Regions from separate parts of the Homo sapiens genome. Here regions 1, 2, 3, 4, 6 and 7 are each linked to region 5. The links are contacts of gene promoters, found by promoter capture Hi-C in blood cells and fetal thymus (Javierre and others, 2016). All regions are on one chromosome and are shown on one strand. The core of a region is centred on a gene start or on the middle of the fragment in contact, and the rest is flanking DNA. Distances in the headings are between cores, read along the strand shown.

What was found. The method cuts DNA at HindIII sites, captures the fragments that hold promoters and counts their contacts. A CHiCAGO score of 5 or more calls a contact.
Region 1: a fragment that was not itself captured here is called in contact with the fragment with the promoter of KIF27 in region 5 in 2 of 17 cell types (monocytes and neutrophils); the score reaches 8.7 in monocytes.
Region 2: a contact is called between a fragment that was not itself captured here and the fragment with the promoter of KIF27 in region 5, in 6 of 17 cell types (monocytes, M2 macrophages, neutrophils and 3 more). The highest score is 18.2, in monocytes.
Region 3: a contact is called between a fragment that was not itself captured here and the fragment with the promoter of KIF27 in region 5, in 16 of 17 cell types (non-activated CD4 T cells, monocytes, naive CD4 T cells and 13 more). The highest score is 13.9, in non-activated CD4 T cells.
Region 4: a fragment that was not itself captured here is called in contact with the fragment with the promoter of KIF27 in region 5 in 2 of 17 cell types (neutrophils and monocytes); the score reaches 8.7 in neutrophils.
Region 6: a contact is called between a fragment that was not itself captured here and the fragment with the promoter of KIF27 in region 5, in 2 of 17 cell types (M0 macrophages and M2 macrophages). The highest score is 6.1, in M0 macrophages.
Region 7: a contact is called between a fragment that was not itself captured here and the fragment with the promoter of KIF27 in region 5, in 2 of 17 cell types (monocytes and neutrophils). The highest score is 5.9, in monocytes.

Annotation. Positions count from the first base shown.
Region 1 is chr9:83,522,217-83,526,137 of GRCh38, forward strand. All of the region lies in intron 1 of FRMD3 (FERM domain containing 3), which reads right to left. Among named protein-coding and RNA genes, the nearest start is that of FRMD3, 14 kb to the right of the region's middle. The HindIII fragment of the contact is 1,214 bases long and covers 1,373-2,586 here.
Region 2 is chr9:84,373,049-84,376,829 of GRCh38, forward strand. No RefSeq gene overlaps it. Among named protein-coding and RNA genes, the nearest start is that of SLC28A3, 34 kb to the left of the region's middle. RefSeq lists an enhancer at 3,383-3,781. The HindIII fragment of the contact is 697 bases long and covers 1,386-2,082 here.
Region 3 is chr9:84,289,602-84,293,394 of GRCh38, forward strand. It overlaps SLC28A3 (solute carrier family 28 member 3), which reads right to left. Exons shown (of 18, transcript NM_001199633.2): 10 at 3,067-3,147; 11 at 553-678. It overlaps SLC28A3-AS1 (SLC28A3 regulatory antisense RNA 1), which reads left to right. Exons shown (of 2, transcript XR_001746802.1): 2 at 339-535. Among named protein-coding and RNA genes, the nearest start is that of SLC28A3-AS1, 13 kb to the left of the region's middle. The HindIII fragment of the contact is 950 bases long and covers 1,472-2,421 here.
Region 4 is chr9:84,331,485-84,334,974 of GRCh38, forward strand. The region is part of intron 1 of SLC28A3 (solute carrier family 28 member 3); the gene reads right to left. Among named protein-coding and RNA genes, the nearest start is that of SLC28A3, 7.5 kb to the right of the region's middle. The HindIII fragment of the contact is 2,998 bases long and covers 646-3,490 here.
Region 5 is chr9:83,919,637-83,923,268 of GRCh38, forward strand. It overlaps KIF27 (kinesin family member 27), which reads right to left and starts at 1,796. Exons shown (of 18, transcript NM_017576.4): 1 at 1,735-1,796. It overlaps LOC105376335 (serine/arginine repetitive matrix protein 1-like), which reads left to right and starts at 1,265. Exons shown (of 3, transcript XM_011519284.2): 1 at 1,265-1,625; 2 at 1,718-2,062. The coding sequence starts at 1,265. RefSeq lists enhancers at 1,328-2,077, 2,692-3,196 and silencers at 1,399-1,778, 1,809-1,958. The HindIII fragment of the contact is 5,103 bases long and covers 1-3,632 here.
Region 6 is chr9:84,353,228-84,356,757 of GRCh38, forward strand. It overlaps a transcript of SLC28A3 not described here. Among named protein-coding and RNA genes, the nearest start is that of SLC28A3, 14 kb to the left of the region's middle. RefSeq lists an enhancer at 2,823-3,413. The HindIII fragment of the contact is 3,937 bases long and covers 78-3,530 here.
Region 7 is chr9:83,468,798-83,472,560 of GRCh38, forward strand. All of the region lies in intron 1 of FRMD3 (FERM domain containing 3), which reads right to left. Among named protein-coding and RNA genes, the nearest start is that of FRMD3, 68 kb to the right of the region's middle. The HindIII fragment of the contact is 1,299 bases long and covers 1,575-2,873 here.

The DNA.
Region 1 (3,921 bases), core at 730-3,229, 400 kb before region 5:
CTTTTATAAGTAGTAACTTTGGAAGGTGATTACGGTTGCACAACAATGTGATTTACTTAATGCCACTAAACTGCACACTTAAAAATGGCTAACATGGTGTCGCCTTAAGCTTTGCCCGCCTCAAGCTCCTCTGCTCGCGGAGGCCAGAACAGGGGCGTAGAGAAGCCTTCAGCGGCTGGGGGGGCAGGGAGCTGTGCCTGTCCCAGAGCTGTGCGAGGCACAGGCACTGCAAAAGAAAAAGATTTTTTTTAATGGCTAACATGGTAAATTCTGTTACATACATTTTTTACTGCAATAAAAATAAATAAGGAGAAAGAAATAAACCACAAATTTTATATATATATATATAATTTTTTTTTTTTTTTGAGATGGAGTCTTGTTCTGTCGCCTAGGCTGGAGTGCAGTGTAGCGATCTCGGCTCACTGCAAGCTCCGCCTCCCAGGTTCACACCATTCTCCTGCCTCAGCCTCCCGAGTAGCTGGGACTACAGGCGCCCGCCACCCCGCCCGGCTAATTTTTTGTATTTTTAGTAGAGACGGGGTTTCACGGTGCTAGCCAGGATGATCTCGATCTCCTGACCTCTTAATCTGCCCGCCTCGGCCTCCCAAAGCGCTGGGATTACAGGCGTGAGCCACCGCGCCCAGCCCGATATATTTTTTAAAGTAGTAACATTGGAGGAGAGCCACTAGAGGTTAAAGAAAGGTTATGCCTTCCCCCAAGCCACACTCTGGCTCTACTATTGGCCCCTTTATGAGCTCCAATAACATCCTAGTATTTTTCTATCACAATAGTGCTATGCTGAATCTGTTTATGTGTCTGTCTGTCTTTTCTACTAGATTGGCAAGGATTAATTATTATTTGTCTTTTTGTATCTCTGCTACTCACAGCAGTCCCCAACAGAGGTATTCAATAAATGTTTGTTTGGTGAATGGATGGAGGATGGATGGATGGATGGATGGATGGATGGATGGATGGATGGACGGACGGACGGATGGATAGATTTACGGATGAGTGGATGGAAGAGTGGATGAGTGGATGGGTGGGTTGGTGGGTGAGTGGAAGAGTGGATAAATGATGAATGAATTAATGGATAGTTAGATGGATGAATAGATAGATAGATAGATGGATGAAAATATTTTCTTAAGTCTTCAGCTCTGTCTTCAGACTAGAATCTCACAATCTCTCCCTCTCTATCTCTCTCTGCATTTCCCATAACACCAAGAAAATGTTTTATATTTTATATTTAACAACTGCTCAATACACTAAGAGAGAAAAAAAGGCTGCCATTTCTAACCCAGTAAACACACTAAAGAAAGGTTGGGGAAAGGAAAAAAGTAATCTTTAACAATATATGTTGAATAATCGCATTAAAAGCTTCCCTTTCTCTATGGAGGTACAATTTGGAGATAAACCTAAACCACCTTCCTCTCTGTGGCATATGATTAAAATCTGCTTTGTCTGTCTAACTTACTATTCTCAAATTACCACACTGCTGCTGGCACTGCAAACTCAGGCTTCACAGCTGCCTTTGAATTACTGTATAACTTTTCCTCTTTTTTTTCCTTTTAATCAGCACTGAACCAAGAAAGTGCCATCTATACATGGTGGAAAAACTATGTCTTCAAACTTGGAGGCAAAAGGTGTCACTCAAGGTGCCCCCTTGTGTCAGGATGACCCTCAGCAGAAATACTTCTCCCCTGAGGTTTGGGAACACAGGAGGTGAAGATATCCTTGATAAGGTTCCAGGTGGCATAAAATAACCTGAAGTGTATTTTCCATCCCTACTCCACAGAGTTTATTACTCTTCTGCCTAAGCCTTCAAAACAGAGAGAGCCTGACATGGCAGTGGCTAGTGCCTAAGCAAAAATAATAGTAATACATTGTTTTCCTATTTTTCTAAAAGTCCTCTAAATACCATGCTCTGCATTGCTAGATTTTGACTTTCAGAGTCAATCTCAAAACTACAAGGTAAATTACATTAAAGGGCAGATAGAAAATTTCATTAGCATTACCCTTCCTTTTTCTCTTTTTACAACTTCTGGGGAGCTAATTTGAAATTTCAAACTACAAGCAATATTTGTACCATGCCAAACATGTAAAAGGAAAGGGGAGGTAGTTTTCAATTGTCTACTTATGTTAGATGACAAAATACTCATATAACCATGGTAAGTTGATTGCAATTTTATTTGGATGTACATTCAGCCACAGGTTACAAAAAGAAAGTAGACATGGAAAGAATTTAGACTGTGTCCTTGGATGACAGTTCCAAGACATCAATGTGCTTTTTCTACCCAGAGGTGTGATCTGTGTATGGCTTTTCTCTTGAGCTATTAAAAAAGTTGTCAGTGGAAAGAAATTATATCATTTAGACTACTGAGAACATTCAAAAACAAAATAATGGTGGTATTTAGTGTAATAAGAGCAAACCTAAAATACAAGACACAATACCCCATCCTAATCTTGCTAAATATGAGACATTGGACCAATCCTATAACATCTCTGTTTAAATCAACCTCAATTTAATCAATTAATACATATTATCATTATTATACTCGAGGATATCAAGAGGACTATAAGTATATAGAAAGCTTGCTGCTAAACAAAGAACCAATAAATACTCCACTTATCATAACATTGTAGACAATACCTACACAAGGTACAGATGACAAAGACTAGCATTATTATTTTCAGAACAATGGACAGTAATATGTGTATCGACCGGCCAAAAAATAACATTAGCTAGAAACATCAAGGAAGAATTATTAGCCAACTAGTTAATTAGGTGTTTGTCCTCTCTTCTATTAATAAGGCTAATTAGTTACTGATTTTTTAAAGACTGCTTGATTTTTATCATTATATTCATTAGTAAATAATATTGTGTTTGAATTCTCAGTTTACGTGTAAAGACCTTGGTTTGGTTAATCTTGACTTTCCAGATTAACGTTTAGCATCACGGACTAGAGTTTTAAAGCAACAAATTATACTTCTGAGGTGAGAGATTATAAGCCATACCCTGATCTGTTAACACGTTAATTGCTTTCCCCTGCTACAGAATAATCATATTTCAAACGTTAGCATAAAACATAGATATATTCAGATAAAACTCTATTGTACATTTAAGATTCAGGTCATTGCATTATTAATATTAGATTATTGTTGTTTGAGCAATTTTGTAGAACTTGAATTATTTTAATTTTCACAATAACCCCCTGAAAACTATATACAAAACAAAATTTGCCACAAGAGGTATCTGAGATATAAATAAATACTAAATAAAGATAAATTATTGCAGCATAACTTGCAAAGCTGCTCCTCATATAACATGTTTAATTTTGTAGCATGTTGATAGGATTTTAAAATGTATTATCTACTTAATGCTCCTGACACTGTCTCAAAGGGCAACTTCCCTAGAAAGAAAATCGTATGCTTTGACACTCAGAACTTGAAAACTGAAAGAGGTCTTTTTCATTTGCAAGTCCAAGCTAGGACATGAAGATTAAGGACAGAAAAGTGCTTTTCCACTGACAACCCTGGTGTGGCTGCCCCATTTGTAGAAGAAAATAGAGACCAGCTCTGGTTCAGGTGAGAGTTGCCTAACAAAGGAAAAACGATCAAGTACTATTGGAAAGAATTCCAGAGCTCACAATTCAGTGATCTACAAGCCTGCCCCAACCAGAAATACAGACAAAAAAGGAAGACCTGTCATGGAAGTTTTATTCATACCACATGGTTTCTGCCACCACTTGCAAGAACATTAACAACTCCCTTACTTCTGTCTCTATGTCAGACCTGTGTCTCTGGTAACTTTCATTCCTTATATCCAACTGTCTATTGAGAATTCTCCACTCAGACGCCCTACAGGCACTTCAAAATCAACGTACCCAAAATGGAACTCATTCTCTGTTCCCCCAACCTGCTTCT
Region 2 (3,781 bases), core at 484-2,983, 450 kb after region 5:
AGAGACAGGCAGAGCCCTGGAGATTGCTCTTATTTCAAATACAAGGGATACAGGGTCAGAGGGAAAGGATTTCGTTAGAAAAAGAGAATGCTCGCATTTACTCAGAGCGGACTGTTTGCTGAGCTCTCTGGCTGGACCTAGGAGCTAATGCCTTGTCTATGGAATCGTGGCTGAATTCCTACCCACAGCCTTCTTGGTCCTCTCTGGCCTTCTACTGCCTTTACAGATTGATCGTGGGGTGCAGTGGACCCTTTAGCACTTTGGAATTCTCTTAACCCACCCTGTACTGTCTCCAAATGGTTGCCTTAACTCAAGTCTACAGTGTTGTAAAATCTTTTGTCCTCAAAGGCACAAGACGTTCTGAATTGGCCCCTTCAGTGTATTTCCAGGGTACTTTGTAATGACAGGAATGGTTCATCATTGAGTGGTAAGGTCCTGTAGCATATTCCTTATATGCATGTTTCATTCATTCCTCTCATTAATGATATGAGACAAGTCCCTTCCCTTCCCTTCCCTTCCCTTCCCTTCCCTTCCCTTCCCTTCTCTTCTCTTCCCTTCCCTTCCTTTCCCTTCCTTCCTGTCTCCTCTCTCCTCTCTCTCTCTCTTTCTCTCTATTTTTTTGTTGAGACGGAGTTTCACCATGTTGCCCAGGCTAGTCTCTAACTTGGGCTCACGTGGTCCACCTGCCTAGGTCTTCCAAAGCGATGGGATTACAGGCGTGAGCCACGGCACTTGGCCTATTCCATTTTCTAGATAACAAAAGTGAAGCCCAGGCTGGGTGTGGTGGCTCACGCCTGTAATCCCAGCACTTTGGGAGGCTGAGGCAGGTGGATCACTTGAGGTCAGGAGTTTGAGACCAGCCTGGCCAACTTGGTGAAACCCTGTCTGTACTAAAAATACAAAAATTAGCCAGGTGTGGTGGTGGGTGTCTGTAATCCTAGCTACTTGGGAGGCTGAGGCAAGAGAATTGCTTGAACCCAGGAGGCAGAGGTTGCAGTAAGCCGAGATTGTACTACTGCACTCCAGTCTGGGCAACAGAGTGAGACTCCAGCTCAAAAGAAAAAAAAAAGAAAAAAAAAAAAAAAAAGGAAGCCTGGAAACATTAGGTCACGTGCCCAAGTTTACACAGAATGACTATGAGCCAAGTTCCTAGCCCCTGTGTGAATGGTTACATTATGCCTTGTACTATTGCAATTTATTAATATTTACACGTCTGTTCCTTCTATTGGGTTAAAAACTCTTTGAAAAATTGGACAATGTCACGTTTGTCTTTGTGTTCTCCTTAGTTCCCCACACAGCTCCTTACACATCATAAGGGGGCAATAACACTGTGATGAGTGAATGAATTGCACTCAGATGCCTAACACTAGCACTTTGAATTTTCAAGCTTGTTCACATCTCCCATCTCCCAACAAAGAAGGATATTTTAATAAGAGTTGTGGGAGAAATTAACAGAAAGCAAACATTGCCAAGAAAAATCCTTTTTGAGATTGGTTCTGACAGTCACACAGCAAGGGAAGAAGAAAATGGTTCTGAAGGGGAGGAACCTCAGGAAGGGGTTCTCTAACATCTGATTCAAAGCAGAGTTCTTTGTTTGTGAAGTCTTGTTCTCATGCGGTTGAGATCTAAATCTCTATTTATAGATTAAAATGCTGCTAATGCTGGCAAGTTGCAGCAAATTGGTTGCCTGGAGATGATAATACTTTGTTAATCCAGTATCAAGCTGTGCTGGGCATTATTGAAACCCAGTCTAGGAAGGACTTTCTGATCATCGAGAATTAGAAGAAGGCTGGTGCAATTCCAAGTGGCATTTGCATCATGCATTTAGGAACAGTTGAAAGTAACCAACTTAAGGTGCTTGGGGTACCATTCCTTAAGGTGACCTCCTAAACTTGTCAGAAAGTTATCTCTGCTTTCCTTTATAGATTTGATGACCATATATGTACCCTTAGAAAATACATTTTTTGTTTTGCTTATTTTTGAACTTTATAAAAAATAGTATCATACTATGTGTATTCTGAAACTTGTTAATTCACTTTTTTCCTCAACATTATTTCCTGAGATTCAGTTCATCCATGTTGAAGCTTGTAGCTATGGTTCACTTATTTTTATTTTTTTATTTTTTTCTGAGATGGAGCTTTGCACTTCAGGCTGGAGTGCAGTGGTGCGATCTCGGCTCACTGCAACCTCCGTCTCCTGGGTTCAAGCAATTCTTCTGCCTCAGCCTCCAGAATAGCTGGGATTACAGTCACCATGCCCAGCTAATTTTTGTATTTTTAGTACAGATAGGGTTTCACCATGTTGGCCAGGCTGGTTTCGAATTCCTGACCTCAGGCGATCCTCCCGCCTCGGCCTCCCAAAGTGCTGGGATTACAGGTGTGAGCCACTGTGCCCTGCCGGTTTATTTATTTTTATTGCTGTATAGTATTCCATTGTATCAATGCTACCATTTACTTATCCAAACTTCCACTGATGAACATTTGAATTGTTCCAGTTCTTTTTATCATGAACAATGCTAAGAACATTCTTGAATATGTTTTTTGTGCACATGTGCAATAATTCTTGGGGTATACAATTAAGCCTGATATTGACATGAGTGTTCAATTTCTTAAGATAATGGACAACTATTTTGCACTGATGTTGAACCACTGTTGCTGGCAATTATGGGGGGAGCACTATATTTGGGACATGGGGAAGGGATGAGGCCAGGGAGGGGCTTGGTTGATGGGAGGGCAGGGAAAGAATTCTCAGCATAGAAAAGTGGTAGTTCCAGGCATTCTTGGGTGGGCCTGAGCTTAGCTGGTGAAAAACAGAAAGGCTGGAGCACAGAAGTGGGGGAACATTGGCAATGAGGTGGGAGAGGAAATCAGAGCCAAGTCCTGAAAGCCAGATTAAAGAATTTGATTTTATTCAATGTGAGGATTTTGAGATGGGGAGTGGATGTGATTTTATTTACATTTCTAAATAACATTTTGGCTGCTCTGTAGAGAATGGATTAGGGTTGAAAGCAAGAAGAACATTAGATGCTAATCATAACAGTCTGAGAGCCCGGGGCTGAGCAGTGCAGAACTGGTTGTGTCGTGGTAGGGGAGATAAGACCTGCTATCAGAGCAGATGTGGGCTGTGAAGGAGAGACAAGAATCAAGGCTGACTCTGAGTCACCAAACTTGTCCCATCTACCTCTTAAGTTTTTCTCAAATGTATGTGTCCCTTCTTTTTCCATTCCACTACCTCAGGTCTTACTATCTCTCATTTGACTACTGCAAGAAGCTGTCAACGAACTCTTCCCAGGGCCTCAAGCTGGCTCTCTTATCCTCCCTCCATCGATCTCCATATAGCTGATGAAATTACTTTTCTAATCAATGATTTTTCTAGATAAAGCAAGTCACATCATTTTCTTCATTAAAAATCTTAGGTGAGTCCCTAAATGCCCTTAGACCAAAACCTTATTCCTTAGGGATAGGAAAAGGAATTACAATGTTGAGTACTTTACATACCTTGAATCCTCATTTAATCCCTCCTAGAATTCCATGAAGAAGCGATTACCCTTGTTTTGTGGGTAATACAACTGAGGCCAGAGTGAAGGAATTTTCCCAACATCATAGGGTCACAGAGATAATAAATGACAGGGGTCTGTTCACATAAGCCAGTGGTTCCCAAACATGGGTGCAAGAGGGTCCTTGTTGGGGGCGAGAAGGCCCCCCAGGGCAATGATATCTCAATATCCTGGGGAGGCACCTGAGTTAATTTTCTCTCTCCCTCCCTCCCTTCTTTCTTTTTT
Region 3 (3,793 bases), core at 697-3,196, 370 kb after region 5:
TCTAACGTGCAGAAAGGTTTGAGAATCACTGCTCTAGACCAGGGGTCAGAAAAGTTTTTCTGTAAAGGGCCAGAGAATAAATATTGTTGTCTTTGTGGATCACAACGACTCAACTCTGTAGCATGAAAGCTGCCAGAGACAAATGAATAGAAGTAGTTGCTTTCCAATAATTCATTTCCAAAAACAGGAGCAATTGGGATTTGGCCCATGGGCCATAGTTTACTGACTCCCAGTCCAGATCACCTTGACTGATGTAATAATTTTTTTTTTAACAGATTTAAATTTTCAACCAAAGCAACTTTATCATATGATTGCATTTTTCTGTTTTTATTCTGCAGATAGAACTCACATTTAGGCAGCAGGTATATGAAGCCCTGAAACTCCTTGGGATCCCTATGTTCAAATGCCAAAGCAACTGTGACCAACTTTTGCCATATGGCAAAAAAAGACACTCTCTTGGCCTCCTTTTTCCACCAGCAATGGAAAAGAAAAGAAATAACAATAATAAAGAAAGAAGAGGTTGGTGTTTTCATAATTCCAAAACATTCTTACCCCAAAAGAAATGTATGCACCTAGCACGCTTCCAGCAATGGTAGAGAACCCGGCGGTCATGATGGCGTGGAGTTCAGACTTGGTGATGTAAGGTAAATATGGTCGGACCAGCAGTGGAGACTCCGTCTGGAGACAAAGAAGGGTGACCAGATTCCTTTTTAAATCTGTGTGGGGGCAGGGGAAGGCATGCCAATCTACTCACAATTTTATTCTTTAAAGCAGACAGTTTCTAAGAGTGAACCTCAGACCAGCTCCATCAGCGTCACCTGGAAACTCGTTAGAAATGCAAATTATTTCGATTTACTAAATTAGAAACTCCAAGGGTGGGGGCTACCAATCTGTATTTTCACAAGCTTTCCGGGTGATTCCAATGCATGCTCAAATTTGAGAACCCACACCATCGACGTCTGGGTTATTTGAACTCTAGATCAGTTTCCATATGTGGTCATGTATAAATTTTGTAAAATTCGTGAGGCTAGACATAGAAGGCCTCCACCCAGCCTAGGACTGGACTCTGTGATGTCTTGGTGCACTTTTCTAAGGGCCAACTGACTCTATGCAGTGGCCTAACCTTCTGGATGGGTGATTTCTAAGCCACTGTGGCTTCCTGTCTTCCAACTTCACCTTGACAGACCCTAAACCTGTTTCCTGACCTCAGAGAAATAGACACAAGCATTAAAAACAAACAAACAAACAAACAAACAAACAACCTCAGCAATAACAAGAACAGGTGCCCGCAGGCCCTTCTGTAATTGAGAATCAGAGACCCCTCTCTGATGGGTGGAAAGGAAGAAGCAGACAGAGTGTAGTTGTAAAGGCTTGAATCCCATTAAGGAGGACAGGCAGCCTGCGGCATGGGGCTCTCCATAGATAATAGCTGTACTTTTAGCATATTAAGTATCAAATTGAACATCACAGAAGCTTGTGTGCAATTTTACAATTTTCTCCTTATTATCTCTAATTGTTCTGTAAGATTGAATGTGTGGAGCCTCGATTTACCGACTAAATAGGAACCCTGTGCGGGAGCCCTCTTACCCCACAGGTAGGAGCAATCAACTCAAGATGGTGCCCTAATTAGTCCTGAGAGATTTTATGACTGTAATTATAATAATTTCAACTCCTAGGGAAGGAAGCATGGGATGGGCCCCCACTCTAAAGACTATGCTCCAGGCTAGTAAGCATAGGTTTTTTTTCTTTTTTGAGACAGAGTTTTGCTCTTGTTGCCCAGGCTGGAGTGCAATGGCATGATCTCGGCTCACTGCAACCTCCACCTCCTGGGTTCAAGCAATTCTCCTGCCTCAGCCTCCTGAGTAGCTGGGATTCCAGGCATACGCCACCATGCCCAGCTAATTTTGTGTTTTTAGTAGAGACGGGGTTTCTCCGTGTTGGTCAGGCTGGTCTCAAACTCCCGACCTCAGGTGATCTGCCCGCCTTGGCCTCCCAAGGTGTTGGGATTACAGGCGTGAGCCACTGCGCCCAGCCGTAAGCATAGTCTTTAGAGTAGAGGCCCGTGCTTCTTGTTGGCTTACCAACAAGAAGTTTCAGCCTGCCAGGAGCAGTTGTAAGCCTGGGATTTGGGGCTATGTGTTTTTCTGAGTGACTTGATTTTTGCTTCAAATTCAGTTTCCTTGGGCAGTGGTGCTGGCAAGCGTTCATACCTGGTTTTCGTGGCGTGTGACTCCATTCTGCCTGAAGCTGCATATCTGGAGTGATGAGGGGCTTATTACAATTTCTTACTGATCCACCCCTTAGCCATGCTGCTATTTTGAGGGACACTCCTTGGCATGATATTTATTTGCTTAAATGGGCTTCAGGCAAAAGAGCGTTTCTCCATGTGATGGAACAGGGAGGTGAAAATTGAAGTCTAAAAGCTTATTTTTGATGAGAAGAGAAAAACCTAAAAGCATTTTTCTTCAGGCTCAGCAAAGACAGAATATTGGCCAGTTCAGACAAGTTGAGAATAAGCTCAAGTATTTACGCAGTTGCATGGTTGTTGGTGGAAAGGCTTTCTTGGTCTCCTCCATTGCCACAGGCATTATAGTTTAGAATGGGAGGCTGTTTGTAGCTTGGAGATTTCGAGATAGTGAAATCCATTCAAGTGGAAGAGCTACCAGCCTCTGAAGAGTTGACCAGAAACCTCACAATCACTAAATTCAGATTTATTGAGAATCTATATGAGAAGCTCTATGTCTATGCCTTAATAAAATGACAACCTTCCATCCTCTTCATAAACATTCTCAAGAACCCAATTCTACATACCATACCCAGACTGTTAAAAGGAATTTCTCTCTGTGTCTCTCTGTCTCTCTGTCTCTCTCTCTGTCTCTCTCTCTCTCTCTCTCTGTCTCTCTCTCTTCTCCCCCTGGAATCCGGACATTGCCAATACTGGGGGTTTCTTATTTTGACACCATTTTCTCTACACTAAAAGAACATTGTGTTATTTTCTTATTTGGCTTTTTGGAAAGAGACGATCCATTTCAACAGATGTTTTGTTCTGTTGATATTACAACTTACTTGTCCAACAAATATATTGCCAGAAGCAACTACAGATTCAATAGGAGATGATCCCGTAGTAACTAGCATGATCCATCCAACCTAAAAGGAAGAAAGGGACAAAGTCAGCAAAGAACTTTTTGTATACCCAAAACTTCAAAGTAGGGATTAAAATCCTTAAACTGGTGTAAAATATTGAGGGCTTCAACATTTGTCAGCAAGCTAATGATGGAGCTAAAGGTAAGTTTAACTTATTGAGCCCCTAGAGCAGGCCAAGCAAATCCTCTTATTGGAGTAGTAAGTCTGAGTCATTGCGTATACTTTGAACATTATACAAATCAATTTCTATAGGTCTATTGTATACAAGTAATAAATGACAATTGCTAACATGCTTATGGAAGGCTTTACTGCATTCCAGGCACTGTGTTAAGCCCTTGACAGTCCAGAAAATGCAATTAATTCTTACAATAACTCTTTGAGAGAGGTCCTATGTAATTATACTCATTTTATTAAAGAGGAAACCAAAGCACAGAACAGTTTAGTTGTTTTGTCAAAGGTCACCCATATGTAGCAGGATGTATTTGAGGTTTGGTCTTTTTTACTTAATTGAAATGAACGTGGTTTTTGGTTCCACTTTTGTACTGGCCTTTCAACTAGAGATGGTGGATGAGGACTTCCTGTTGCATTCTCTCTCCTTGCTTTTTAGTTTAGACAAGAGCATAACAATTCTGAATGTTTTGGGGTTTAA
Region 4 (3,490 bases), core at 895-3,394, 410 kb after region 5:
GATCTCCCAAATTGTAAACTCCATTTAACAAACTCTCCAAACCTGCTTGACTGGCTTACTCATGGAGTAACTCAGCCTTTCCTGTGTGTTTGTGCAGAGTGAGGCCCATTTCCCCAGCCTAGTCCTCTCCCAAGACTTTCGTAAGTGAGTTCCACCCAACTAACTTCAGAGCAAGCTTGGGTTCTGTGCCTCTGAGAGCAGCTGTGGTAAGATTGATTGCTTATTCACAGGGAGGAGGAAACTTGAGTTGGGATTCCAAGAGATGCCTTTTAATAAATGTGTTAAAAAACATTCCTGCATTTTCCTCTTAGAAATTCTGAACTGTTTTGACCTCTGTTGCTGTTAACTTCCATCTCTTTGGATTCTTCCCCATCTCCTCTGAGTTTGGAAAAATCTTTCAGTTGCCCTGTTCCAAAAAGCCTCTCCCAAATATGGACACGTGGCAAAATATCTGTGGAGTGGGGAAAAGGTTCTTTTTTAAAGCAATGTTGATGATCACTGAGTGGTGTTAAAAGTAAATTTAAAAAATAATAATGCCAAAATAAGTGGATGTTCGTGTGGAAAGCAAACTTGACTCCTACCTTACACTATACATTAAACTCAATTTCAGGGGGAATAGAGATCCTCAATGTGAATGAAAGTATAAGCTTTTAGAAAATATCCTAATGACTTTAGAGCATAATACCCTGTTGTTCTCAACAATGAGCAATATGGACATTGTCATAATGAAGTGATGACTGCTTAGCCTCTAAATCTGGTAACTACTTTGGGACAATATGGGAGGAAAAGTGAAGACAGTGATGGTGTAAGAGCTAAATCCTCATCTGTCATATCAAGAAATCACTATATAATGTATAAAACAATCAAGAAATGCCTAAGTAGTTATGTGAGAAAAAAATAGAGGACATTGCTAAAAGAGTTAAAAGTCATTGCTCTGGAGAATTAGGAGGGATAGGGTAGGGGACTGGTAGGATGCATTATAAACTGAAGAGGCTTTTAAAAATTTCATGTATTAATATATGCATTCACTTGAAAAACTAAAAAAATAATAATTGGAAAAACCCATGAAGGTAACTACCAGAAGGAAAAACTGAGAGAATGAGAAGTGCTTGCCTCTGGAAAGAACAACTGGCAGGACTGTTGCTTTCATTGTAAGGCTTTTGGAGCCATTTGATTGTACTTAATCATTTTTATCTATTTCTTTAATAAAAACAATTTTATCTTAATAAAGAGTTACACTTGTTCGAAAAAAAAATCTTCATGATTTTGCAGGTTGGAAAAGATATTTTAGACAAGATACAGGAAAGAGAAGCAACGTTTCCTAAATGGGACCATATATAATTAACTTTTGTCCCAATGTTTCCTAAATGGGACCAATATAATTAACTTTTGTTCCTCAGAATATTCCATTAGAGTAAAAGATGGCTTCACAGTGGTAGAAGGTATTTACAAATCATAACTGACAAAGGGCTTGTCAATCGAGGAAAATGATGAGACAAGTCTCAATCATTTTAGCAGATTTATTTGCCAAAGTTAAGGAACTGCCTGGGAGACAGGTCTATCCCTTTCTCCAGAGATGATTTTGAGGGCTCCAAATTTAAAGGAGAAAGGGCGGGATAGTGAGAAGCACACAGTTTTCATGTAAACAAAGGGGGCAAAGGAAAAATGTGGAGAATCTGCATTTTACATAAGATAATACAGACGAAATGGGGTAGGGGAACAATCAGATATGCATTTGTATCTGGGGTGACTGCACCTGTAAAGATAAGTTATCAATTACATTGCCATGGTGAAGTTTTTATAGCTCACCAGGAATTTCCTTGTGGGCAAAACATGGGGGAAGCGTGTAGCTTTTCATCTTGTAGCCATCTTATTTAGGAACCAAAAGGGGGAGATAGGTATGCGTGACCCAGTTCCCAGCTTGACTTTTCCCTTTGGTTAAATGAGTTTGGGGTCCCAAAATTTAATTTCCTTTCATAGGCTTGTAACCAGAACATCTAAGGAACTCTTTCAAATAAAAATGGAAAAAATCCAGTAGAGAAAATGGGCAAGAAAGTTGAGCAAATATTTAAAAAGTTGGCATCTAACAACCAATAACAGGAAAATTTTAATTAAACTCAATGACATACTGCTACACACCCACCAGAATGGTTGACATTAAAAGGTCAGCTGAATAATGATGAGAAATGGGAATACTCACTCTGCTGATAGGCATGCAAATTGGTAAAATCACTTAGGAAACCAATCTGACACTATCAGCAAAGTTGAAAGTATATGTTTATTCCAGTGGCCTAGCAATTCCACTCCTAAGTACAACCCCAGAGTAAATTTATTACAGATACTCCCCCTGGCATGGATAACAGTGTCCCTAGCTGCAATGTTTGTAGAAGCTCCAAAAACCCCAAACTTAATAACGCAAATGTCCACTAGCAGCAAAATGTATAAGTTGTGGAATATTTACATGGCAGAATCCTGTGCATTATGAAATGGGATGAGCTGCAGTTACATGCAACACCATGTGAATCTTAGAGAGCTGATGGCCAGGCATGGTGGCTCACGCCTGTAATCCCAACACTTTGGGAGGCCAAGGCGGGTGGATCACGTGAGGTCAGGAGTTTGAGACCAGCCTGGCCAACAGGGTGAAACCCCGTCTCTACTAAAAATACAAGCCGGGCCTGGTGGCTCATGCCTGTATTCCCAGCTACTCAGGAGGCTGAAGCAGGAGAATCGCTTGAACTGGGGAGGCAGAGGTTGCAGTGAGCCAAGATCACGCCACTGCACTCTAGCCTGGGCAACAGAGCGAGACTCTGTCTCAAAAAAACAAAAAAAAAGTTTCAATATAAGCAAAGAATACATTTTGTGTTTCTATTATATAAAGTTCAAAACCAGGCAAAGGTACTGCTTGGGGATTCATAATTAGAAGTTAAGGTATAAAGAAAAGCAAGGAAGTAATTGCCCCACATTTGGGTCAGTAGTCACCCCTGGTTGGGTTTACCCCAGGGAAGGGAGGCAGCAGTGATGAAATGTGTAGGGCTGGACCCTGAGGGATGGCAATATCCTGTTTCTTGACCTGAGTGACAGTTCGCCTTATAAGTTGTATATTTGTTTTTATGTATTTTTCTGTATGTTGTATTTCACAACGAATTTTTTTTTTTTTAACATAAAAACACCTCCCCACAACTGCCTTTGCCTGCCCTAGGTCTTCCCCTTCCCCGCCCCTCCCTAGCACCACCACTGCACCAGAAGAGCGTTCATTCTGCTACCATTTTTCCTAGCCTAACTCCCGCTCATAACACAAACTTCTCCTCCTTCCCCAACCCTAGCGTCACCAGTAACCTCCTAGCTGGCAAGTCAAGTGAACCCGTGGCCTCACTCTATAGACTCCTCTGTCCTTTCGGAGTCTTTTCTGTTGACTTGTGGTTCTACTTTCCCTTGACTTCTCCAGATCGCCCCTCTCCTGGTTCTGCTGCTCTTTCTCTCCCTGTGGCCC
Region 5 (3,632 bases), core at 546-3,045:
GTAATCCCAGCACTTTGGGAGGCCAGGGCGGGTGGATCACTTGAGCCCAGGAGTTCGAGACCAGCCTGGGCAACATGGAGAAACCCTGTCTCTACTAAAAATACAAAAATTAGGCAGGCATGGTGGCGTGCGCCTGTAATCCCAGCTACTCAGAAGGCTGAAGCGAGAGGATCCCTCCTGAAAACAAAACAAAACAAATGTGAGCCACGATGCCCAGCCTCATTTCTTGGGGTTTTTAATGGTAATATCTATAAAGAATTTGGTTATAAAGGCAACTGAAACTTATTCTAAGCATTAAAAAAAATAATAATGGGGCCGGGCACAGTGGTTCACACCTGTAATCCCAGCACTTTGGGAGGCCAAGGCAGGTGGATCGCTTCAGCCCACGAGTTCCAGACCAGCCTGGGCAACATGGTGAAACCCTGTCTCTACTAAAAATACAAGAATGTGCCAGGCTGTGGTGACGCACCTGTAGTCCCAGCTACTTGGGAGGCTGAGATTGGAGGATCGCTTGAGCCCGGGAGGTTGAGGCTGCAGTGTGCCACTGCACTCCAGCCTGAGTAACAGAGCGAGACCCTGTCTCAAAACAAAACAAACAAACAATAGTAATGGTCCACAAACATAGGGCTTGTAAAACATCAATATACAAGAAATAAAGTTTTTACACAATCCATAGCACTTATACTTCAGATTCTGATCAATTATAGTCATCAGAAACATACGTATTATGTTGCCAATAAATGATTTAAAAAAAAGCAAAATCTGATTGGTCGTATTTAAGTATACTCAACGGGTTTTTGAAATCTGAGCAAAGGCAAGAGAAATATTGAATCCCTCATGTCATGTCACTGGTCAGGAATGAGTGTCTCCAAAAACCGTTGCCATCCCGTACCCTTGATTTCCCAGAAAGCAGTGGTTGTCTTAAATGTGTGGTTTGTTAATTATTTTCATAAAAAACTTGCCAGTAGATGGACAGTAAATCGCATACGGAGCTCAGAAAAGGCCCCAAATGCGTAAAGACGACAAAAGAGTAAAGAAGGGCAAACAACAAGGATTTTCAACACTGGAGACTTAAAAGGTGTTACTTAAAAGGTGTTTCAAAGAAAGAATCTGGGCGCTTTGCTCTTTATAGTCACCTGCCTCCGAGGGAGGGAGCTCTCGGGCTTGAATGTGCCCAAGGTTCAACCTCTACGGTAGGAAATGCGCCCAAGTTTCAACCTCTACGGTGGGAAATGCGCCCAAGTTTCAACCTCTACGGTGGGAAATGCGCCCAAGTTTCAACCTCTACGGTGGGAAAAAGACGCCTGCGATAAAACAAAGCGCTCGGTGGTGGTGGCCCTCGCGTCGCACCTCACGCCGTGCAGCGACACGAGACGAACACAGGGTGCGCTCTGAAAGGCCGGGTCCCGCGTTCCGGTCGATCGGTGTTCCCCGGGACCCGCTCCTCAGGGCTGACCCAACTTCCTCCGGAAGGGGCGCTCTGCCTCTAGTCGCTCGCCGGCTCCCAGCCCCGACCCCAGACCCCTCGGACGCCCCCATAGGCCTAGCTGGCGCCCCAACCGCCCACCCTCCGCTACCCACCCGCGGCGGCCCCGACCCCAAGCCGGAGCCTACTAGTCCCAACGGCCGGCTGGGGGCGCGGGAGCGGCGGGCGCGGCGGGCTGGAGGGCGGGCACCGCGAAGGGAGGGCGCCCCACTTCCCCGCACCGCCCGCCAGGCCCGCCGAGCACTGACCGGCTCGGGACAGCCCAGGCCCCTGTCGGCGAGCGCTGGACTCCTCAGCTTCGCTCTGCCACACCGCGCAGCCGCCGTCCGCGTCTTTTGTTGTCGCGAGTTCTCCTGGCAACCGGCGAAGCCCGCCTCCCGCCGCGTCCTCTCCTGGATGCCGCGTCCTGGCCCCGCCCCCATCCTGGCCACGCCTCCAAGCCCGCCGCGCAGGAGTCCTGCGTCCCCAGGAAGTCCGCAAAGGGCCGGCCCCTGGGCTTGCCTGCAAATCCGAGTTGTGTCCCACCAACGCGCTGGGACCGGTCTGTGAGGCCTGAGCGCAAGCATCTTTCTACGGGTTCGTGAAATGAGTGAGAACGATTCCACACCGTGTTTCAATATCTTAGCTACCAATTCAGTTTATTTTTATTTTTATTGAGTAAAACTTGCCTAACATAAACCATCTTAAAACTCACAATTCAGTGGCGTTTAATGCATTCACAGTGTTGTGCAACCATCACCTCTGTATATAGTTCAGAAACATTTTCATAACCCCAAAAGAAAATCCCCAAACCAGTTAGCAGTCATTCCTTCTGGTTCCCCTCTCCCCACAACCCCAGCCAGCCACTAATCTACTTTCTGACTCTGTGATAGCTTTACCTATTCTGGGCATTTCTTTATTGATGGAATCATTCAGTATATGACCTTTTGTGTCTAGCTTCTTTTGCTTAATGTTTTCAAGATGCAGTCATGTTGTAACATCTATCAGGACTTCTTTTCTTTTTTTTCTTTTCTTTTTTTTGAGACCGAGTCGCGCTCTGTCGCCCAAGCTGGAGTGCAGTGGCGTGATCTCGGCTCTCTGCAACCTCCACCTCCCGGGTTCAAGCGATTCTCCTGCCTTAGCCTCCCGAGTAGCTGGGATTACAGGCGCGTGCCACCACGCCCGGCTAATTTTTTGTATTTTTAGTAGAGACGGGGTTTGTTTCACTGTGTTAGCCAGGATGGTCTTGATCTCCTGACCTCGTGATCTGCCCGCCTCGGCCTTCCAAAGTGCTGGGATTACAGGCGTGAGCCACCACGCCCGGCCCTTTAGATGGAGTTTCGCTCTTATTGCCCAGGCTGGAATGCAATGGCGCCATCTAGGCTCAACGCAACCTCCACCTCATGGGTTCAAGCGATTCTCCTGCCTCAGCCTCCGGAGTAGCTGGGATTACAGGCATGAGCCACCCTGCCCGGCCCTATCAGGACTTTTTAGGGCTGAAAAAATTCCATTGTATGGATATAGACATACCACATTTTGTTTATCCATTCTTCAGCTGGTGGTGGACATTTGGGCTGTTTCCATGCTGCTATGGACATTCACATACAATATTTGGATGTCTGTTTTCAGTTCCTTTTTTTTTTTTGAGATGGAGTCTCGCTCTGTTGCCCAGGCTGGAGTGCAGTGGCGCTATCTCAACTCACTGCAAGCTCCGCCTCATGGGTTCAAGCAATTCTCCTGCCTCAGCCTCTGGAGTAGCTGGGATTACAGGCATGTGCCACCACCACGCCTGGCTAAGTTTTCTGTATTTTTAGTAGAGACGGGGTTTCACCATGTTGGTCAGGCTGGGCTCGAACTCCCGACCTCAGGTGATCCGCCCACCTTGGCCTCCCAAAGTGCTGGGATTATAGGCGTGAGCCACCGCGCCGAGCCTGTTTTCAGGTCTTTTAGGTATGGACGTAAGAGTGGAATTGCTGGGTCGTATGGTAATATTTAACTTTACCAATTTAGTTTTAAATGCTTTAATGCCTCCTGTTTTTAGTAGCACAATCTAAGCATCTTCAAAAACCCTTCCTTCTCTCATGAAATATAGGAATGAAGGTGGGGGAAAAAAGCTGACTATTTTATTTATAGTTTTTATTTTTTTTTCTTTTAACTGAATTATTTA
Region 6 (3,530 bases), core at 796-3,295, 430 kb after region 5:
AGATTTCAAATCACATCTTGAGTTTACATATTTTAAGCCTCACTCACGTCTACTCAGTTATTTCATATACTGGTGGAAGCTTGAGGTGTCTTGGCTCTTAAACAACATGGTAAAACATCTGTAAGTTGAAGTATAACTTGGGAACAGGGAAATAATGATATTGAATTCTATTCCATCTACTGTACTAAAAACAATTTACAGGCTGGGCACACTGGCTCACTTCTGTAATCCCAGCACTTTAGGAGGCTGAGGTGGGCTGATCACTTGATGTCAGGAGTTCGAGGCCAGCATGGCCAACATGGTGAAACCCCATCTCTACTAAAAATACAAAAATTAGCCAGGCGTGTTGATGCGCGCCTGTAATCCCAACTACTTGGGAGGCTGAGGCAGGAGAATCACTTGAACTCGAGAGGTGGAGCTTGCAATGAGCCGAGACTGAGCCACTCTACTCCAGCCTGGGTGACAGAGCAAGACTCTGTCTCCAAAAACAAAAATTATAAACAGAAAAGAACTATGTCCTACACATGTAATGTAACAATCACAATCACAAATACACCAAACTATGTAAACCTATGTAGGTTTATATGCTTTCAGTTTGTATGCTTTCCTGTTAATTTTAGTTTTACTTATTTGCCTTGTTAGCATTCATTAGCATGATTCAAAACTTATCAAAACCAATCATTCCAGGTAAATCCCATTCATTCACTCAAAATATAAATTCTAATTACTGAAAGAAAAAATCCTACTTATCGGCTTCCTCTTATGATAGCTGTACATACTGAGATATTGGTGTCACTGTTCTTTGTTAGTATAGGAATGTGGCTCAATGCCTGGCTCTCACCTCATCTTGTTCTCTTTCTTCTTTGCTCACAAATCTTCCAAGTCCTCCAGATCTGTTCTGGCCACAGGACATTTTCACTTGAATTTGGACTGGCCCCTGGACTGGCTCTTTCTCTTTGCTCAGATCTTAGCTCCTCAGCGAGGCTGTCCCAGGCCACACTGTCCTGTTGCCAGGCCAACCCTCATAGAGGACACTGTTTTGTGAACCATGGGCTCTCCTGCATGGGGCATAGGGCTGTGCATGGAGGCAATGCAGAGGGTAGGTATCTAAGAGCTCTGAAAGCCTGGCTGGTAAATACCATCCCCCCTGAAAGGAACCCCACAGGTTACACCTAGGACTTCTTGTGCTAGAAACAATGAAGTTTTTAAACCTACCTAAGTTTATAGCCAAAGGATATAGGAGTGGCCTGGGAAAGAACAATGTTTATAATCGATTGAAACACATAAAACCTTCAAAAATTCATGAGTCTATAATGATACTTAAAAACGGAAACTCTAGGCCGGGCACAGTGGCTCACGCCAGTAATCCCGGCACTTTAGGAGGCTGCGGCAGGCAGATGGCTTGAGCCCAGCAGTTAGAAACCAGCCTGGGCAACATGGCGAAACCCTGTCTCTACTAAAAATACAAAAATTAGCTGGTATGGTGGCGTGTGCCTGTAATCCCAGCTACTCGAAAGGCTGAGGTGGGAGGATCGCTTGAGCCCAGGAGGCAGAGGTTGCAGTGAGTCTAGATCGTGCCACTGCACACCAGCCTGGGCAATAGAGTGAAACCCTGTCTCAAAAAGAGAAAAAAAGAAAAAAAAAAGAAAGAAAGAAAAAAGGAAACTCTGAAAAAAACCTAAAAAGGGAGAAAATAAGCATTTATATTGTTCATAAGGAATTGCATTCAGGGTAACTAAATAGCCCCAGTTGTTAAGAAGAAGCTATACCTTATATATCAATGCCAGCAACAAATATAAAAATGATAGAATTTGAAAAGCATGATTTTGTGATCCTTTGAGCAGGGATAATCAATTGGAATTAAATCACTGGTTGGGTAGCTTATGGGGTGCTGGACGTCGTATGGAGCCAAATTCACAGTGTGCAGATGACATATTGCCACAGGGGAAACAGTAAAACGCATAATAAAGATGTCAGGGCTGAGGCAGGAGGATCTCCTGAGGCCAGGAGTTGGAGATCAGCCTGGGCAACATAGTGATACCCCTGCCTCTGAAAAAAGAAATAGCCAGGCACAGTGGTGCATGCCTGTAGTCCCAGCTAACTGGGAGGCTGGGGTGGGAGGTCTGCTTGAGCCCAGGAGTTCAAGATTACAATGAGCTATGATCGTGCTACTATAGTACAGCCTGGGTGATGGGGTGAGACCATGTCTTGGGGGAAAAAAACACGTCAGGCCAATACTAATCCAAATCAACAATTTACTATACATGGGTCCACCAGATATCATGAACTTCTGATGTGGGGTGATAAAAAGTACATATTGTCATTTTCGGTTTGGTCTATATATATTTTGATTTCTTTTTTTTTGTAAGAGCTCTGAAGTCAGACTGCCTGGTTCTAATCCTAATTCCCCTATTTCTAGATTGGGAACTTGAGCAGTTTATGCAGACTCTCAGAGCCTCTTAGGGTTTTGTGAGGATCTAACGAGAATACTTGTGCAATTGTTGGAATGGGGCTGGGTACTTAAAACACTCAATACTCAATACATTAGCTATTATCATTGTAAGTGCCCTATTCTTCCTTTTCTTATTTTATTTTATTTTATTTTAGAAAGGTTCTTACTCTGTCACCCAGGCTGGATTGCAGTGGTACAATCATGGCTCACTGCAGCCTTGACCTCCCTGGTCTCAGGTGATCCTTCCACCTCAGCCTCCCAAGTAGCTGGGACTACGGGTGCACCCCACCACACCCAGCTAATTTTTTTTAAAAAAATTGCAGAGATGGGGGTTTCACCATATTGTCCAGGCTGGTCTCAAACTCTTGGGCTCAAGCAATCCGACTGCCTCAGCCTCCCAAAGTGCTAGGATTATAGGCATGAGCCACTGCACCCAGCACCTATTATTTCTTGAATAAGTGCAAACTATTGTCGTAATAGCCATAGATAGCTATATAGCTCACCTCCCCCTTCCACCCAGTTCAGCCCATGGGATTCTAGACTTACAGCATGGGATAATTTGAGACCCATCAAGGCATCAGGACCAAAGTTTCAGGCCCTCCTCCCATCATTAACCCATCCTCAAGGCCTGAGGAGGTCAGTTAAGGGCTCCGAAACTGGGCTTCCTCATGAACCTGAAAGAAAAGTGGGCAGGGCCTCAAATCTGTGGCCTATGGGGAGAAAGGTGACGCACACCTGGGCAGGAAGGTATTGTTCAGTGTGACTATCTGCTAAATCCCTGGGGCTCCATCCAGCTAAGATAAAATGTGATGGTTCCCATTCTCAGTAGACAATACACCAATCCTATTTTTCTTAAATTTACCTAAATGAGGCCGGGCAAGGTGGCTCACGCTCGTAATCCCAGCACTTTGGGAGGCCAAGGCAGGTGGATCACAAGGTTAGGAATTCGAGACCAGCCAGGCCAATATGGTGAAACCCCGTCTCTACTAAAAATACAAAAAATTAGCTGGGCCTAGTGGCATGTGCCTGTAATCCCAGCTACTCAGGAGGCTGAGGCAGGAGAATCACTTGAACCCGG
Region 7 (3,763 bases), core at 974-3,473, 450 kb before region 5:
GGGGAGGACTAGACAGCCCTGGCAACATGGGATCTGGGAGGAGGGTGGAGAAGAGCAGGGAAGCTCCTCTTTGGGGCCAAGCCCATGAGAGCAGCCAGCTAGCCATATAATGGCCGTGGCTTTGACTTCCAGCTCCACCTTGAAACCCAGACAGTATCATGACCAAATGAATGTATCCAAACACTCCAGTCAGATAAAAGGGATCAGTACTGGAATGCTCAGAGCTGGGAGGCAGCTACCATGAAAGCTAATCCAGGCATGCTGCCCCAATATGTTCTACAAATGCCCAACTACACAGTAAAGCATTCAAATGAGGTTAAACTAAAATGAGGCAAGATACAGACGAGAGCAGGGATGAAGACTTACACTGGCTGGAGACAGTCCATCGCCAAGCAAATAAAGCCACCCAAATCAAAGACAGAGGCAAACAAAAATTAAATCTTATCCCCAGAGTGGTAAGTAGCAGTTCGCTGCTGAGGGTCTGCTATTCAGGTCACTCTAACAGAGCTCAACTATGCCAAAAGCAATCCAGTAGGGATCCACTCAAAACCTGACAAAGCCACTTCTAAGAAAGTCAGATGCTTCGTAGACAATCATTAGATGGTATACCTACAGGTCAAGGAACTTCATGATTTCACACCTGCCAGGGAGAATTCGAATTGTCAAAATGTCAAAGTCAAATGAGAGAGTACAGGGGCAACAGGGAAGTGCCTGGTGAGAAAAAGGAGTCATCTCTTATTCATGAGGCTATCACTCACTTGTGGAGGAGAAACTTAAGACCAAATAATTGCACCTTTTCAAAGTCATTGATAAGGATGTATGAACCACCTCATGGAAAACATGGAATTAAATAAGAGCAACAACGTCCTTTTTTATTTGAGACAAAGAGAAAAAAAAAACACATTAAACTGGAGGAGAGGGAAATGCCTGAATTCAAAGCTCAGATGGGAATTAGAAACCGGCTATTGTCAGGTAAAGGCTCCGTGGTCATACATAATTAAAACTCATGCAGCCAGTGTCTTCTCACCAATGAGAGATCTCAGAAAACTAAGATGGGGGGCGGGGAGAAAGCCCGCAGGAGCAGCTGCTGGTCCACTAGTTCTCAAACTCTTACGCACGTTTGAATTCCCTAGAGCTGTATAAAAGTAGAGATTCCCAGGCTGAAGAGCTCTGGGGATAGGACCCAGGCATTTGTACTTTTTAAAGTACAGTTGATCCGGTGTGTTGAAACCATTAAATCTGGCTGAGAGGAGCTATGAACTCATAACCATTCCCAGTTTTCCAGAAGAAACTGATGTAGCAAATTTAAAAGAATTTTTTTTAAATAAGGAGAGGTTCTACCACTCAGGGAACACCTAAGCACCACAGCCCCAGATTCCAGCTGCTCTGAAGTTCCATCTATAGTTCCCTCTCCACTGGAGCACATTTAGAAAAGCCCAGAGAAGGTTCTGGACCTCACCCCACTGCACTTACTGAACTGAACCCAAACTTCCCATTAGAGAGGGGGCGATGGCTTACACGCTGAACTTAGTGTTGATCTGGGCTGCAGTCCTCACCCTGCCATTTTCTATATAAGCTTAGACAAGTTCCCTAACTTATCTGAGCCTCAGTTACCTCAGATCTCTCTCAGAGGGTTGTTTTGAGATTTGAGAGAGAACACATGTAAATCAGCTTGCAGAGTGGCACACAGGGCAGGGGGCCTAGTAAACGTTTATTTGTTAATTTGTTTAAGGGACTATGCTGCTGCCAGAGACTGGATTTGAATTGTCAGCCTCAAAAATCCCCTTGCCTTGTGATAGCTCTCCAATCCTCTGCACACCAATGTGTGCCTAACCCTGAGGCTGACCTTTGATGTCCCAGAAGGGTCCCGATCAGAAGGTCTGGATTCATGAATAGAATACACAAGCTAATCTGGTAGGATGTGGTACAATGATTTTTGATGTCAAAGATGTTTCATGGTGCCTTGCACATTGCAGATGAATAATAAATGAATATTTGCAGGCTGGATTATTCAAAGAAGACTTGGAGTTAACCTGTGAATTTCACTTTAGGGTGATTCTCCTTTTTCTTCACATGCAATAAAAGTGACTGAAGAATGTGATCTTACACAAGCTGGAGCATTTTCCCCCATCTGTTTTAGTTTCTAAATCTTTAAAACTAATTAATGGTTACTAACAAAACATAGAAGCAAACAGCAGTAGAGAACAATTTAATGGTCCTGCCTCAGTACTAGAGGAAAACTGCTCACAGCTAACTCTGTCTCATAAAACTCCAGTTTTAGGGGGGAGAAGGTGACATCCCTCTGCCTCTAGACAGGTGAGAGGAAATTGAGAATAAAAGATGGACCAACACGTACTCCCTCAAGATGATACACTCAGAACAGATTTGACAGCACAGAGAACGGCTCTGGCCTTCTGCTCTGCTGGTCAAACTGGCACAAATACTGAAAAGATGAAGCAGGAAAAAGAAATTGAAACATTCTGGGCAACTTGTAAATTCCTAGGTCTATCAGGGAGTCTAACAACCCATTAGGCAACTGGAAAAACAGGCAACTATCTTCACGGCTCTGCTCCATTTTCTCATATCAATATCTAGCGTTACACAATAATGCTCAGCAGATGACTGAGTTCCTCTTTCACCATTTTGAGCTATCATTCACAAGGGAAGGGCATGAGGACACAGTTGCAGGTCAGTGAGGGTGGGTGGGACACCGGCTTGGGAAACTGAATGCAGGGAGGCAAGGCTGGATGAGCAGGTCCAGGAAAGCCCGTACTGCTCCACACAAAGGAAGAGAGAGCATCAGGAAGAACAGGGACTCATCCTCTCCCTGGAAAAGGGCTAAAAACCAATCATTGCAAATTCACCTTGTTCAAAGCTTCTTTTCTGACCACAATGGGCTAGATGGTCTCTGAGAAGACCTGGGAGGTTTATTTTACCAACAGAAACATTTGTATTTGTTTAAGTGGTGAAGTATGAAACCTCTGTGATGAAATGGCTGCTGTTTTACTGACTGAACCCAAAATTCTCACCAGGGAGCTAGCAATGGCGTCCCACACTGGACTTGGAGTTGATCTGGACTCCAGCTCTGGGCCTGTCATTTCCTAACTATGTAACTTTGGGCAAGTGTCCTAACTCATGTGAGCCTTGTATCCTTAAATCCACCTAAGAGGCTTGTTGAGGTTTGAATGTGAGAATACAAGCAAATCACCTTGTATAGTGACAACACAGAGCAAGGGCCTCGTGAACATTCATTTGCTCATTCATTGAAGGGACTAGGGTGCTACCAGAGATGCCACTGGGAAAAACTCCATTCCCAGCCCTATTTTCCCCAGAACTCACCGCTCAGATTTTAGTAAGCATAGTGCAAAAATAGTGGTCCATGGTCAAATAAGTATAGGAAAAGCTGGAGTCAACAACGTCAAACTAGTTTGCTCACTTGCCCAAGAGCCATAAATAAGCTGATGTGTGCTATGAGCTGCAGAGAAGATCAGGGTGAGGGAAATAAAACCTGCAGCATTTCTCAAGCATAATTCTTCAAGGAACATCTGTTATGACACACACGTGAAACATGCCCCCAAAGAGTTCAGGAAACGCTCATCAGGAACAAAGGTTAGTAATACATGGGAGTGAGTGGCTCACCCAGTCACCCCATGGGATCTGACATTTCCTGACTGGTGTTTACCTAGGTGACAGAGGAGACATTCTGGAGCCAGAAACAATGATAATGCTACCAGGAAAGTAGAACACCACCCAAAGGAACGCC